2 separate regions of the Homo sapiens genome follow, and region 1 is linked to region 2. Evidence: promoter capture Hi-C in human tissues and cell types (Jung and others, 2019). All regions are on one chromosome and are shown on one strand. Each heading gives the region's core, a stretch centred on a gene start or on the middle of the fragment in contact. The rest is flanking DNA. Distances are from core to core; before and after follow the strand shown. Region 1 has its middle 12 kb from the start of MIR8078. Region 2 holds the start of CETN1 (centrin 1).

Region 1 (7,111 bases), core at 4,527-7,026, 480 kb after region 2:
TGTGGTAAAGAGTTGTGATTCTATCCAGAAGGCAATAGGTAGCATTCTAAACAGAGATCCTTTTTTTTTTTTTTTTTTTTTGAGATGGAGTCTTGCTCTGTTGCCCGGGCTGGAATGCAGTGGCATGATCCCGGCTCACTGCAAGCTCCTCCTCCCAGGTTCACACCATTCTCCTGCCTCGGCCTCTGGAGTAGTTGGGACTACAGTCGCCCGCCACCACACCCGGCTAATTTTTTTGTATTTTTAGTAGAGACGGGGTTTCACTGGGTTAGCCAGGATGGTCTCGATCTCCTGGCCTCATGATCTGCTAGCCTCGGCCTCCCAAAGTGCTGGGATTACAGGCATGAGCCACCGCGCCTGGCCACAGAGATCTTTTAAAACAAGAGTCAGCAAATATTTTCTGCAAAGGGCTAAATGTTAAATATTTTAAATTTTCCAAGCCATATGGTCTCTCTCTCAATGACTCAGCTCTTCCATTATACCATGAAAGTAGCCAGAGACGTTATATAACATATGTATGTGGCTGTGTCCCATTACAACTTTACTTACAAACGCAGACTGTGTCAGACATAGTCCATGTATGGTAGTTTGCCACACCTTGTTTTAGAAAGCTCAGGTTTATGATGTGATGGAGAATTCCTACAAGAGTTCTTGTTTTAAATGGTAGAGTGAACATACACTGGAATTCTATACTGCTTGACCCAAGCTTTTGATAGCAAAAGGTAGAAAAGACAGATAGTAAACAGATAGATAGATGATAGGAAGGTAGATAGATAGATGATAGATAAAGAAAGTACATAGCTGTTCCAGAAAACAGAAACTGATAATTTCATGAACCAAAAGCAGAGTAATATACTTTAGAAAGGAAGCAGGCTGGAAAACCCACAGTTGCAAAGCAAATGGAATTTCCAACTGCCTCTTGTAGCCCCTTCCTTGAAGTAGTCATAGCCCAGGGTGTTTGACTTCTTCCTCTGTTTTTTGTTTGTTTGTTGTTTGCTTTTCTGTGGGGTTTTTGTTGTTGTTGTTTGCTTTTTTTAAAAAAAATTCCCTTTCACTGCTTTTTTGTCACAGCAGCCTTTGTCGCTTCAAACACCGCAAGTGTTCTTTTAAAAGAATTATATCAACCTTTCAAGTGAAATGCAACATGTCTGAAACGTGGTATCTGGAGAGGTGAGATGGACAAAGGAGCCCTTGTTACTGCACGTTTTCATTCTCCAAACTTCACCTTGCACGCAGTAACAGACAATGCACAAATCCACTTCCTTATGGACGCAAATTCTGAAATCCTTTTATGCCTGGCCTTTCCATCCTTCAACTTCCCCTTTCCCATGCTGTGAATGATTGTATTGGACATTTTTGTTTTAATCTCAGTGACAGGGGAACACAGGTAGCTCTAATATAGCTGTGTCCCAGATGCTTCTGTTTCTAGCATGTATTTATTTTGCAGCAAACATTTACTTCCAAGATTTTTCACTGTCTTTTGAAAATAATTAGGCAATATCTCATCTGAGGTAGGATGTTTCTAGGGGTTGTGTTCTGAGGGAGGAAAACTAATCTGTTCTCTTTCCACTGCATTCTGGGAACAGTAAGAGGACCTTGTGAGTGAATAATTTGTTTCCACATTACAGAGTGGGTAATAAGCAGATTAGTAAAAACAATTCTGCTTCACTTCAATAACAGCCTCCTCCAACTCATTTTTTCTCAACAAACTTATTTTTCCAGCAGAAGAATCCCAGACTTCTTAGAGAACCCAGTGACTTTTTGCACCTTAAATCTGTGAAATCCTCACGTTTTCTTCTGCTGTATCTATAGTTCAAACAAAGATGAGGCAAAACTAGACGCATTCCTGAAGGAACCCAAGAAATTCCTCTCTTTCTGTCTCGGAATGAAATGAATTCTCCAGACCACTAGTTCTAACCTTCAAAAACCAAACCTGTTTGTGAGATCTCCTTCAAATACTACTGTAGACCCCAGTATTTATTCATTAAATTTTTTAAATATTTGTTTTATTTGGAATCAAAGTATTTGTAATTTTAGTATTTGTATTAATATAAGGGAGAAATGTTTAAATCTGTCTATGCCATATGTGCCTCTGGCTTATTGCCCAATTAATTGTAGTCTCAGGCTAAACTTTCGTTTCTGTCTTCAATTTTTGTCAGAAGAAATATAACTGATCTCAAAACATCTGCTTTTATGTAGGGACTCGTGCTGCCATCTCCATTCCTCTCTCTTTTTTTGCAATCTGGGTGGAAGTTCTTTAATATGAACATTTCAACCACCTTCATTCTACCATATCCACTATGAGCACATTCAAACGTATCCAGCCAAGGCTGTCATCTTAGGCCAGGGATTTTTTAGGAATCTATTTTGCTGTGATGCGGCTGGCACCCCTTTGATTCACTGTATCACCCCAGGGTTCTTTTCATTTTATAAGCCCAAGAGGGCAGAAAATGAAGTAGATGAGCAATTAAACACTGTGAGTCAGGAGCGTCTCCCCTTGTGTTAGGCAATGTTGTAGAACATCGTATTTAGCAAGCTCCTAGCAGATGAGCCATGTGGCTTCTGAGCACACGTGCCTGCTTGCTGCTGTGAGCTCAGACACCATCATCATGTCTTTTCCATCTCTGGAGGGAATTGTAAGGGCCACTTAATAGCCTGTAAATCAGAGAGATAAAGGTGCTTCCCCAAAACACTGATGACAGAATGAAAGGTGAGGAGTGTTAGCCACAGGTCAAAAGTACAGGAAAGTCTCTCAGTGTGGGTTGCTGAAGAAATGCAGGTCTTTTTTCTTTTGGACGTCTCCCTAGAATGGGGTCAAGGACTCTGCCCATTCTAGGATGAAAAATTGGGATATTAGACACACTCAGATATTTATCCCAAACTTTCAATTTGGGCTCTTAATTAGTTTGTTCATCCATCACAATCTCAAATGCTAAGCAGGACATTTGAATCTCTCCACAGTCCAAATCAGCACCGTCTTTTAAAGTTGAGTTTCTTATTATTCTCACCTGATATACCTTATTTATCCCACACACACCCCAATAACATATTGTGCTCACTGTTATCTTTGAGACAACACTTGAATTTTACTCAGCCTGGCGTGCTCTTCACATATCTTGTCCAGATCCAGTTGAGACTCATTCTTCAGCCATGCATCAGTCAATGGGGGCTAGGTTAAACTGTGGTGACAAACAACCTCCAAATTTCAGTGGCTCAAAAATCTTCTTCCTCATTTATTTACATCTCATCACGGGTCAGGTGAGAGATATCTCTGTGCTGTGTCATCCTAACACAGGAATCCAGATGGAAGGAGGGATCATCAATAAGATCCCCATTGCTATAGAAAAGAGAAAAAAGCATGCAGAGTAGAACTCTGTTTCTTGGAGATTTCTCCTGAAAAAGTCACATGTTATTTCTTCTCACCTCCATTAGCAAAAAATAAAATAAAAATAAAAATAGAAAAGTCATGTGGCCATGGAAAAATTTAAGTAGGTGGGATGGAACAGTCAGAATGCATTCATAAAAAAATGGACTGAAAATATTTGGAGAACAGCACCAATGACTATCATGAATGCCAACATACATCCCTAACAACCCAGTGCTGTTACCCTCCAAACATTTTATGTCTTGCAAAGTATTAGAACTTCATATGTGAAGCCATACCACTCAGAGGGAATGCAAAATACATAATGACATCTCCTTTAAGATGTCCTTAGAGAATTCAAGGAAAAGAAGTTAAAGGATTTAAAAGTGCTTTTGGGTACAGCTATTTAGCACTAGACAGTAAGATTAGACATAGATTGTAAAGATAATAATAGGGTTAGGGATAGGATTAGGATCTGGGTCAGAGTCAGGGCCAGAAGTATGGTTAGAGGTGGGGTCATGGTCAGGGTCGAGATCAAAGTCAGGGTCAAAGTAAGGGTCAGAATTAGGGACCAGGGTAGGGATCAGGGTTTAGGTTCAGGGTCAAAGTCTTGGGACAGGGTTAGGGTTAGAATTAGAACCAGAGCTTTGTTCTCGTCAGGACCCACCCGAGGATGGGTCACCATGGCTTTGGAGCACCTGGTAGTGTGGCGTGTCCACAGTGAAGACCAGAGTTTCGTTGTCCTTAAGACTGACCTGGGAGACGTGGCTGCAGGCCATTGAGGAAGGTGAGGCAAAAGCTTCCTGTCTGCTCCCCGTGTGCTGAGGAGGGAACTCTGCCATGGGCTTTACTTTCACACGTTTTATTCTACAAGTCTTGTTTTACAAAAGCATCCCTTCCTTGAGGCTTCGGCTGCTCATCGCAGCTCATCACCATAGCGTGCCATAACATATGGTAAGATTTGGGCTTGTTTCTGGGAAGAGATCTTGGTATAGAGACAGGGGAAATGCTTAGAGCCACCATCAGGACAGTTGGGATGAAAGCTGGGGATGGGCAGAGGCTGGAGGAAACACGTGCACCCCCTGTAAACACTTTTATTCATGTTTTAATTGCTCATTTTTCTTACAGTGTTAAAGTAGTAAAAATAGTATTGAAAAATTGAAAAGTAGGCATATTAAAACTTGCACCATTATTTAAGTTTAAATATATTGTTTGTACCTCATCATTTTTTATTTTGTTGGGAAAGTCTAAGGTTAATTGCAGCATAGTTGTAATAGTAGACAGAATAATGTCTGTTTTATAAACATTGACATACTACATTACATGTATGAGCCCTGAAAATCTGAGACAGCTCTCAGATTTTTTAGAAAGTTTATTTTGCCAAGTTTGCAGTGGAGCCCCCGTGATGCCTCCTCAGGAGGTCCTGACAACATGGGCCCAAGGTGGTCGAGGCACAGCTTGGTTTTATACACTTTATACACTTTAGGGAGACATGAGACATCAATCAATATATGTAAGGTGTACATTAGTTCAGTCCAGAAAGGTGAGAAGGCCAGATAGGGGGCTTCCAGATCATAGGTAGGTAAGAGACAAATGGTTTCATTCTTTTGCTTTGCTGATTACCCTCTCCAAATGAGGCAATCAGCTATGCATTTATCTCCGTGAGCAGATGTGTGACTTTGGATAGAATGGGAGGCAGATTTGCCCTAAGCAGTTCCCAGCTTGACTTTTCCCTTTAGCTTAGCGATTTTGGGTCCCCAAGATTTATTTTCCCTTCACAAGGTCTAACATGTTTTCCTATGAGCATTAATTATTTATTGTGTATTTTATTACACAAATAAGGCATAGATTTTTTAAAAATCATCAACTTCATGCCTAGCTACATAGACATAATTCCATAGAAGCTCAACTAAATTTGAGCTTAGGGTTAGGGTTCGGGTTAGGGTTCGGGTTAGGGTTAGGGATCAGGTTTTGAGAGTGTGGTGAGGATCAAGGGAGGCACTTGGCAGGAGGAGGCAGATTCAACTTCCCTGGGGATCAGGGTTAGGATTGGTTAAGATTACAGTGGTGGGTTAGGGTTGGGGTTGGGTAGAGGAGGTTCTGGGAGGCTGTGTGAGTTTGGGGCACAGAGCTCCTCTTAAGATGCCCCAATAATCATTCACTCTGCTGTTAAAATGTTAGGATATTGCTAGCTACATGCTGATAAGGACAAAGGGGACATTCTTAAGAGAAACCTGGCACCATAAGTACAGATTAGGGCAGAGAAGGACATTCGAAAGAGATAGGCAGGCACAGTAGGTACAGACATGACCACTGTAGGACCTTCCTGGAGTGGCAGGAAGGAGCCCAGCCCCAGCAGTGGAATCACACTGATCACTGCACATATGTGTCAGCCAACAGTGAGGGGGTCCCACAAGCCTAGGCGGGGCAAGTCAGGGATCTAAGGAAGGAGCAGGAAAACCAGACAAAGAAAAGAGGTGGAGACTTGAGGAATGTGAAGAAGTCCAACATAAAACTCCCTGCTCAGGACCCTGGGGCTGTGTTCCTGCAGATCAGCCCCACTTCTCCCTTGAGGCATACTTATTTTTTCTACAATAAGCTCTTTACACTATATTTCTTTTCAATGAAGTTATCTGCCATCTTTGTACTGCCTCTTGGTGAGAATCTTTCTTTCAAGTTAGACAAGAACTGGGACATCAGGTCTCCCCAGTATTAGCTCCATTTCAGTTTGAATTTGCAGAATTGATAGTGCTGAACAACCTGCACTCCAACTTTAAGTGGTGTAGGAAGAGGCCAGCAGGGTCAGACCCTGAAAACAGACCAGCCACGTCTCCCAGGTGGACGCAGCGGGTTCTCCACGAACGTGACTTGGGGATTTAGGGCACTGAGACCGTGCTACCCACCCCCCTTAAAAATCCCTCGTGGCTCCCAGTTGCCCTGAAGGGGAATCCCAAACTCTTCAGAGGCAGCACATGCTGGTGGGTGAGACTTGGGAGCCTGAGTCCAAGTTCCAGCCTGGCCGCTATCGGCTGTGTGACCACTGGCAACTCGCCTAACCTCTCTGGGCCTCACGGGCTCGTTGGAGGATGTGGTGAGAGAATGACCGAGATGAGCTTAGCACAGTGCTGGCCACACTGTCGCTGTTCAATGCCAGGTGGCTGTGGCAGCAAGAGGGCCCTGCAGTGTCTCCAGCCGCCAGCAGGGTGCGTGCCGCCACTACACTGGGAGCAAGAGGGCCCTGCAGTGCCCTGGCCGCCAGCAGGGGGCGCAAGGCCATGACACCGTGAGCAAGAGGGCCCTGCAGTGCCCCCGGCCGCCAGCAGGGGGCGCAAGGCCATGACACCGTGAACAAGAGGGCCCTGAAGTGCCCCCGGCCGCCAGCAGGGGGCGCAAGGCCATGACACCGTGAGCAAGAGGGCCCTGCAGTGCCCCCGGCCGCCAGCAGGGGGCGCAAGGCCATGACACCGTGAGCAAGAGGGCCCTGCAGTGCCCCCGGCCGCCAGCAGGGGGCGCAAGGCCATGACACCGTGAGCAAGAGGGCCCTGCAGTGCCCTGGCCGCCAGCAGGGGGCGCAAGGCCATGACACCGTGAGCAAGAGGGCCCTGCAGTGCCCCCGGCCGCCAGCAGGGGGCGCAAGGCCATGACACCGTGAGCAAGAGGGCCCTGCAGTGCCCTGGCCGCCAGCAGGGGGCGCAAGGCCATGACACCGTGAGCAAGAGGGCCCTGCAGTGCCCAGGCCGCCAGCAG
Region 2 (7,825 bases), core at 1,389-3,888:
AAAATTCAAACGCCAGTTTAGACCTGTTCCACTAGACCCTCCTCCCCTTGTCCCCATATTCTCTAGAGTATTAGCCTATTGAGAAGCAGGAGAATGCACTATTGAGTGAATTGAGAGGTTCTTCCCTGGCAGTGAGTGGGATTCAGAAATATTCTGGGGCCCCCTTTCCTTTTTTGGAGCGGACCATGCCCTTAGGCCACCCCTTTAAGGCTATGCATGGTGTGTGGCCAGCCCAACCACTGGGCTTCAGCCTGGGTTCCTGGTTTTCTCTTCTATCATCTGCCGGGCCAGTAGCCAAGGCTGAGCCCAGTCCAGTTGGCTGAGACTCTGCTTCTCCTAGTTTCTGCCAACTTTCTTTGTTTCTGGTATTTCTACTTTAATTCATACGTTGATCCTTGGGCCAAGACTCTGGTCAACAGGATACCAGGAACTCTTGCTTCCCAGAATGCCCCCTCCTTCCCCTGCCCTCAGATCAGGCCCTTCATACTGATGTTGGCCCAAGTTGCACCTGTTCCCATCCTGACTGCACCTTAGTCCACACTAAGACCTTGAACCTGAACTGTTAGCATCTTGCAGCCTGGGTGAGTTCCCCTACCCTGTGCCAGGCACCTCAGCAAAATCCTCACAGTGAATGCTTCCATACCCATCACTTCAGCTAGTACTGCCGCTTTGACAAATTAGTCCCTGTTAATGAGAATTAAGCCCAGGGTAGTTTGTTCCCCTGATTAGATCCACACCCTCTGAAGGGTAAAATTGCTGGCAAAGCAAGTGAAATGTTCCCAGAATTTGAGCATTTATCTTAATGGGGCTTTGTATGAGGATTTAATTTAGGTTTAGTTGTGACCAAAATATCCTGCCTCTTTGTTTTGTTGCCTGTTATTAAAACATTAGTCAAAGCCTCCATCTCAGCAGATCTATTTGTTATTTTCCCACAATTACATTTTTAAAATTTTCTTTAACTTCAGATTTGTAGCTATGCAAAATGATGATATCTTACTCCAAAGCAAAAAATAATTTATAACAGAAAACAAGCAGTATTAACACATAAACAAGCCACAGTGGAGCAGTTTACTGGGATTTGTAAAATAGAGCACTACTGAAATGCCAGACACTCTGACATCAACTATATGTCAGAGGGGCTAAAAGTCAAGTACCAAGAACCAAGATGTTCTAAGGATTAGCAGGGAGAGTGTCTCATAATCAAGCAGTAATAAGATGACTAAGGTTATAATAGTCCAATAACTAAGATATTTGTTGCTATTTCCAAGGACTATAAGTAGCTTAAAATGTTATATTAAGGTATTTGTTATAATTTCCTAAACTAAGATCCTACATTTGTAAATATTTACTCAAAATCGTTTGTTAGCGTAACCTCTTAAGCAAATTATACTTTGCTTGGGCCAGTATTAGATTTTATTTTTATTCTGTAGCCCAGGTATACATACTAGCCCTAGATAAACCCATGGTGGACAATTTACACATGAACGAAGAATCATTTGCAGGTATAAAGCCAGTGAATAGTCAAAATTGCACAACGTACTACCACCCAAGCAAGTCTATTCTTTATAAGATTATCTGTCCTGAGCTCCGTAAGTTTGTAAGTGGCCACCCTGTTTTCCTTCAAACTGGTATTCAGCTAAGTGGACAGGCTAGGCAAATCTACTGGCAGATTCCATCTCATTATGCTGGAACAATGACTGGAATTTAAGGAATGATATATGAAGCAAGATAATTTAAGACCACCAAAGAAGTGACAAAGGGAACCACATTTTTGTGTGTCCCAGAAGCTGTCCTGCCTCCAGATCAACAGATGAACAGCAAGTTCAGCACAGGGCAAATGGAGGGCGCACTCAAACTTCAGGGCCCTTTGTTTAACCTCATGTGCTCCAGGTTGACTCTTGAGAATTAAAACCCAAAACTCACATTACAAGCATCTTTCAAATTCTATTATTGAACTAGAGATATGGAAATAGATCTAGACAAATTATGGGGGTGAGGGGGTGAAGAAGGGACAGGCAGCCGCTGTCCTCTAAGGTTTCACAAAATGGAAGCAGGCAACCCAGAGAGTCACTTTAGCTTCTGAACCGACTTCAGTAAAGGCTGGTCTTCTTCATGATCCGAAGGAACTCCTCCTCGTTCACTTCGCCGTCCCCATCCCGATCAGCTTCGTCGATCATCTCCTGCAGCTCCTCATCCGTGAGGTTCTCCCCCAGCTCGTTGGCCACACGCTTCAGGTTTTTGAACGAGATCTTCCCGGTCTCATCGTCATCAAAGAGCCTGAAGGCCTTCAGGATTTCTTCTTTGGTGTCCTTCTCGGACATCTTCTGCGTCATCACGGCCAGGAAGTCATTGAAGCTGATCTTCCCCGTGCCTTCCCTGTCCACCTCGGAGATCATTTTCTTCATCTCTTCCTTCCTGGGTTCGAAGCCCAGCGCTCTCATGGCCACCTTCAGCTCCTTCGCGTCGATGGTCCCACTTCCGTCCACGTCGAAGAGGTCAAATGCTTCCCGAACTTCTTGCTTCTGATCCTCAGTGAGCTCGGGCTTAGGTGCCACCTTTCTCTTTTGGCCGGTGGAGGCAGCGCTGGGCTTCTTGAAGCCGGAAGCCATCCTGCCGCTCTGGCCGCCGTGGTCCCAACGGCACCGCCCCGCGCTCTCATTCGGGCGCCCCCCGCCGGCGCGGCGCGGGACCACCCCTCGCTCACTGCCAACGCCCACGCCCGCTGGGGCCTGGAGCCGGCCCGGGGAACCTCTTCCTACGCCCTCCCATCTGCGGGATCTTGCTTAGGCGAGAATCCGCTGTCCCCTCGGGTCATTAACCGGTTTCCACGAGTTGACGCCTGAGCTGGCAAGAACAGCCTGTAGCCACAGTTGTCTTCTGTAATCCACTGGCGCTGGCAGTTCTTTCCAAGATATGTGCTAGCATCCATAAGACCCCAGTTTTATAGGTTTCTTTAGGGACTCTTCCTCTCTCTCTCTCTCTCTCTCCTCTCTCTCTTTTGACAGGAGTGCACTGGTGCCACTCAGCTTACTGCAGCCTCCACCTTCCAGGATCAAGTGATCCTCCCACCTCAGCCTCCATAGTAGCTGAGACTACAGGGCATGCCACCACACCCAGCTAAATTAAAAAAAAAAATTTTTTTTTTTATAGAGACAGAGTCTCACCATGTTGCCCAGGCTGGTCTGAAACTCCTGGGATCAAGGGATTTCCCGCCCCAGCCTCCCAAAGTGCTAGAATTACAGGCATGAGCTACCAAGCCGGGCCTCTCCTTTTTATACCATTTAAAAAACCCTCTTGTTCTAGCGGCAACACCCAATGAGGTGACAGGTCCTAAGGGTAAATTTAGGATAATCAAGATTGAGTGTGATCACTTGACATTCAATGTGGGGAAGGAGAAGGAAGAGAGAATATTAAAAGTCATACCATGTGTTCAACTTGACATAAATGGGAAACAGAGAAAATGGAAAAATTTATGTATAAAATGCGTAGAAGTTTGTCTCCTGACATTACACTCAACAATAATACAATGTTTCTGGCATGTTCTCAAATATGAAATGTAATATCCAAATGTATGATTTACTTTCAGTGTTTCCATTTTACATACTCAGTATAATTGCACTTGAATAATGGTCATAATTTCATTCATGAGGCTTTTGATTTGGAGGGAGGGAAGTGGAAATACTACATTCTGGTATATTCTAGTATTTTCTTTTCTCTAACCTCCTAGCAGCACATTACTCTCCTTGCTTATCATCCAATCAGAGCTGTGCTGAAACCCACGCTCTGGTCGCCTTCCTTTGGCAATGGGCACAGGAGATGATGCAGGACATGTTGGGACTCAAAATTGCCTCCTGGGAATAAAGCGGTTCTCCTACAAACCAAAGAGCAAGAGGAAAATGGAAAAGAAAAAAAAAATTACCAAATAAGCCCACCAAGGAATTGCCTGTAGAATTACTTTGCATTCTTTTAAATAGTTACAGAAAAGAAAGCTGACTTATTTTTTTAGCATTCTCCCCCTGCCCCGCCCCCCCGCAATCAAATCTCAATCTATTAATATATCAATACCTTTTGTAACCTATGAAGGTTACAAAAGATGTCACTTTGAAGAGTTTGTGTTAAAGAGTTTTATGGCTGGGTGCAGTGGGTCACACCTGTAATCCCAGTAATTTGGGAGGCCAAGGCGGGAGGATCACCTGAGGTCAGGAGTTCAAGACCAGCCTGGCCAACAAGGTGAAACCCTGTCTCTATGAAAAATACGAAAATTAGCTGAGAGTTGCTGCGCACAACTGTAATCCCAGCTACTTGGGAGTATGAGGCACGGGAATCGCTTGAACCCAGGAGGCGGAGGTTGCAGTGAGCAGATATTGTGCCCCTGCACTCCACCCTAGGCAACAGAGTGAGATTCTGTCCCCAAAAAAACAAACAACAACAAAACAAAACAGTGCTGGATACAACACAGTAGGTAGGTTAATAAATATTCGTTGAATGAATGCATGACAATTAAGGTTGGTCCTAAAATACCTTCTGAATACAACAAGTGAAAACCCCAAAAGATTAAATGATGCCAGGAATGTTTTACAAACTGTTTTTTAAAATTAGTGGTCAGATATTGTTTACATGGCACATTTAATTAGCCATATATCACTACCTGCCCCAGTTCGATATGTGACTTAGTTGACAGAGAGCCTGGACACAGGGTTTCTTCTAAAGGCCAAGGAAACTTACATAGGACCTCCCCTCTCCTGCCTTCCAGTACTTGTTGTGGACAGTGTCAACTCAAGGCACACTGGCAGGCAGACACTACAGCTGCTGTTCTTCTAACACCGCAAATCCTTGTGACCTGCTTTTTTCCATGTCAGAAGCCTGGGATCTTATCCCAAGTCTATGCCTTATTATCTCTGTGACTTTGGAAAGTCACTTAAACCACCCAGAGTCATCGAAACACCTGCAAAGTAGGCATCATCATAAAGCTTCCCACTGCATTTTCAGTGGGAGAATGTACACAAAAGCTCCAGGAACAGTGCCCTAGTGGGGCCATACAGATCTGGGTAATTGTTAGTTGAATAAGAATTTTTCTCAGACATTGTACATTTCCTTTGGCACCCACCCTTCTGCCCAAATTCAAGCCAAGCTATGATGTGTTGGGAAAAACTGAAGTATGGAAGCTGCCTTATATAGAGCTACATTTGGGCCAAGCTGAACTAAAAGCAAAACGGTTGTCATGGTTTCCAGATGTGTGCAATCAACAGTTACAACAAAGGGCCACCAAGAGCTCCCTTCATAGAAACAGTGCCCATAGTCACAGTCAGCTCTTGGTGGGGAGTTACATTATGTTCAGAGTCCAAACTCTGACTTAAGAAGGGAAGGGAAACACATTTAATGTGTGCCTAGCTTTGGGCGTGCTTCTCATAGTTGTCATCTTATTTGATCCTTGCCATCATTTCCTATTTTGCAGATGAAAAAAATGAGGCCCAGGAGAGGCCTGTAACACATATTTAATGGTACATGGCCAATAAATGGTGGCTCTGGGATTTAAATCCTGGCCTGCTGAAGCTTTGTTCACTACATCATGCTGCCTTCTCCACAAGTTGATTCTATATTACCAAAATATAGAATCACTGGGAAGACATGATACAGATTTTGTTACAGTAGGTAGCTAGTCAGGCATGAGCGGGGCAGAGAAGGGCTCCCCTCCCAACCCGCCAGGAATGTCAGGTGATGATCAGGGGATGGTTTGGCAGTTGTCACACTGCCTCTCTAAAATGATCATTGATCATGGCCACAACAGGGAGAGGCAGTTTCCCAACAGATGAATACACTTGAAATTGGTAGTCGGCAGCTTCCAATAAGATCTCAGGAATTGGGCCAGTGGGCTTGAGCATGCGCATTAAGAGACAAAATGGCAGCGTATGACCTTCTAGGGGCGTTCCACTGGAAAAGGGGAAGAAAGCCTCAGGTGATCACGCATACAACTTCTTAAACACACTGCCCATGCTCACCTCCCAATCCCAAGCAGGGCACTATGCATGTGGGCGGTTCACCTTAAGAGAAGAATAAGGGAAAGGGGCACAAGATGCGGGAAGTAGGCCAGCGTATAAAATCCTAGGTTCAAGATCAAACGGGGCACTTGACCTCCAGGGCGTCCATTGGCTCTCTTCCAGGTGTACTTGTGAAGTGGCCTTGTTGCCTGGGGTGACACCCAAGGTTCTCGGTCTCACGGCCACGGAGGTAAAGGATGTGGAAACACACAAAGGGTGAGGTTTCGAGCAGAATTTTAATAGGTGAAAGAAGGAGAATAGCTCTCTGCCCCAGAGAAGGGTCCCGAGAAAAGGAGTTGCCGATCCGTGGTTAAATGCAGGGGGTTTTATAGATGAGCTAGTGGGGAGGCGGTGTCTGACCTACAAAGGGCATGAAAAACTGGTTAGGACCGGGTGTGCCATCTGCATAGGGCACGAATCTCTGGCAGCCCCCACCCCAGTCTTTTATTATGCCCGTGGCTAGATACTCCATGTTACTTCTTCCTTCCTTCCTTCCTTCCTTCCTTCCTTCCTTCCTTCCTTCCTTCCTTCCTCTCTCTCTCTCTCTTTCTTTCTTTTTTTGAGTAGGAGTCTCACTCTGTCACCCAGGCTGGAGTGCAGTGGTGAGATCTGGGCTCACTGCAACCTCCGCCTCCCAGGTTCAAGCGATTCTCCTGCTTCAGCCTCCTAAGTAGCTGGGATTACAGGTGTGCGTCACCACGCCCGGCTAATTTTTGTATTTTTAGTGGAGACGGGGTTTCACCATGTTGGTCAGGCTGGTCTCAAACTCCTGACCTTGTGATCCGCCTGCCTCGGCCTCCCAGAGTGCTGGGATTACAGGCGTGAGCCACCGGGCCCGGCCGCTTATTTCCTTCTTACTGTGCATGTGCTAAAAATAGAGGGGAGGTGGAGCCCCCAGGGTGGACATTCCTGGCCCCAGGTACCTCTTTCTAACTGTGCAGCTTCTGGCATCCCCTCGTGCAAGTTTCCAGCTTCCTTATCTATGTTTGCAGCCCGATCTCCCAGGCTGCTCTTTGTTAGAAAAGAAGGGATTTCTTGGGCTGTTCTTTGTTAGCAGGGAAGTTCTGCCGAGGACTCTTTTGCCCTCATTATCTGCTTAAAATAATTTCTGTCTCCAGTATCACTTGCCTTATGTTCCTGCTCTAAAGCGTTTTAATAAACGCTCTGAAACTTGCCTCAGTCTCTTTTTCTGCCGTATGACCCTGAGTTGAATTCTTTCTTCTGAGGATGTAGGAATTGAGGTTGCTGCAGACCCATACGGATTCTATTAAGGTAACTTGGATATTCGCTACTAGTGATACATTTTGGTGCCACGTGACTCGGATACCTTCTGCTGCTAACAATTTTCTTCCCTACACATAACAATAATTAAGCATCTTGCCTAGAAGGATTGAACAGGAATTTGTAGGATCTAAGACAGGGTCCCATTCTGGGGCGAGTCACTGAACCTGCAATATGCTTAGTATTTACATCTGTTCTTCCTCCATTCCACTTCACCCCATTCCCTGCTTTCAACTCTGTATATGAGCTGGGGAAAGCAATCTGGGCAAAATGCCTTTGCTTGGCATTAGTGAAAGTCTATACAAGGCATGTGAAAATCAGCTTTATTACTTTAAAAGTAATTTTTAAGTTCTAGTGAGACTGACATAAAATAAACGAGACATCCTAGAAAATCAGTGGAGATGGGCGGGTTTCTGTTTGTTTTTGGGTTTTTGGGGGGCCCTCAATTTTTTTTTTTTTTTGTACCACAATGTCCTAAGTATTATGCAAAATCAGTGATTGATTCT

The links. Contacts are between HindIII fragments. The study calls those that stand out against the background at their distance.
Region 1: a fragment that was not itself captured here is called in contact with the fragment with the promoter of CETN1 in region 2 in 1 of the 25 tissues and cell types used here (lymphoblastoid cells).

What each region holds. Positions count from the first base shown.
Region 1 is chr18:96,968-104,078 of GRCh38, reverse strand. No RefSeq gene overlaps it. Among named protein-coding and RNA genes, the nearest start is that of MIR8078, 12 kb to the left of the region's middle. The HindIII fragment of the contact is 6,681 bases long and covers 2,436-7,111 here.
Region 2 is chr18:575,193-583,017 of GRCh38, reverse strand. CETN1 (centrin 1) reads right to left here and starts at 2,638. Exons shown (of 1, transcript NM_004066.3): 1 at 904-2,638. The coding sequence starts at 2,609. The coding sequence ends at 2,091. The HindIII fragment of the contact is 12,122 bases long and covers 1-5,262 here.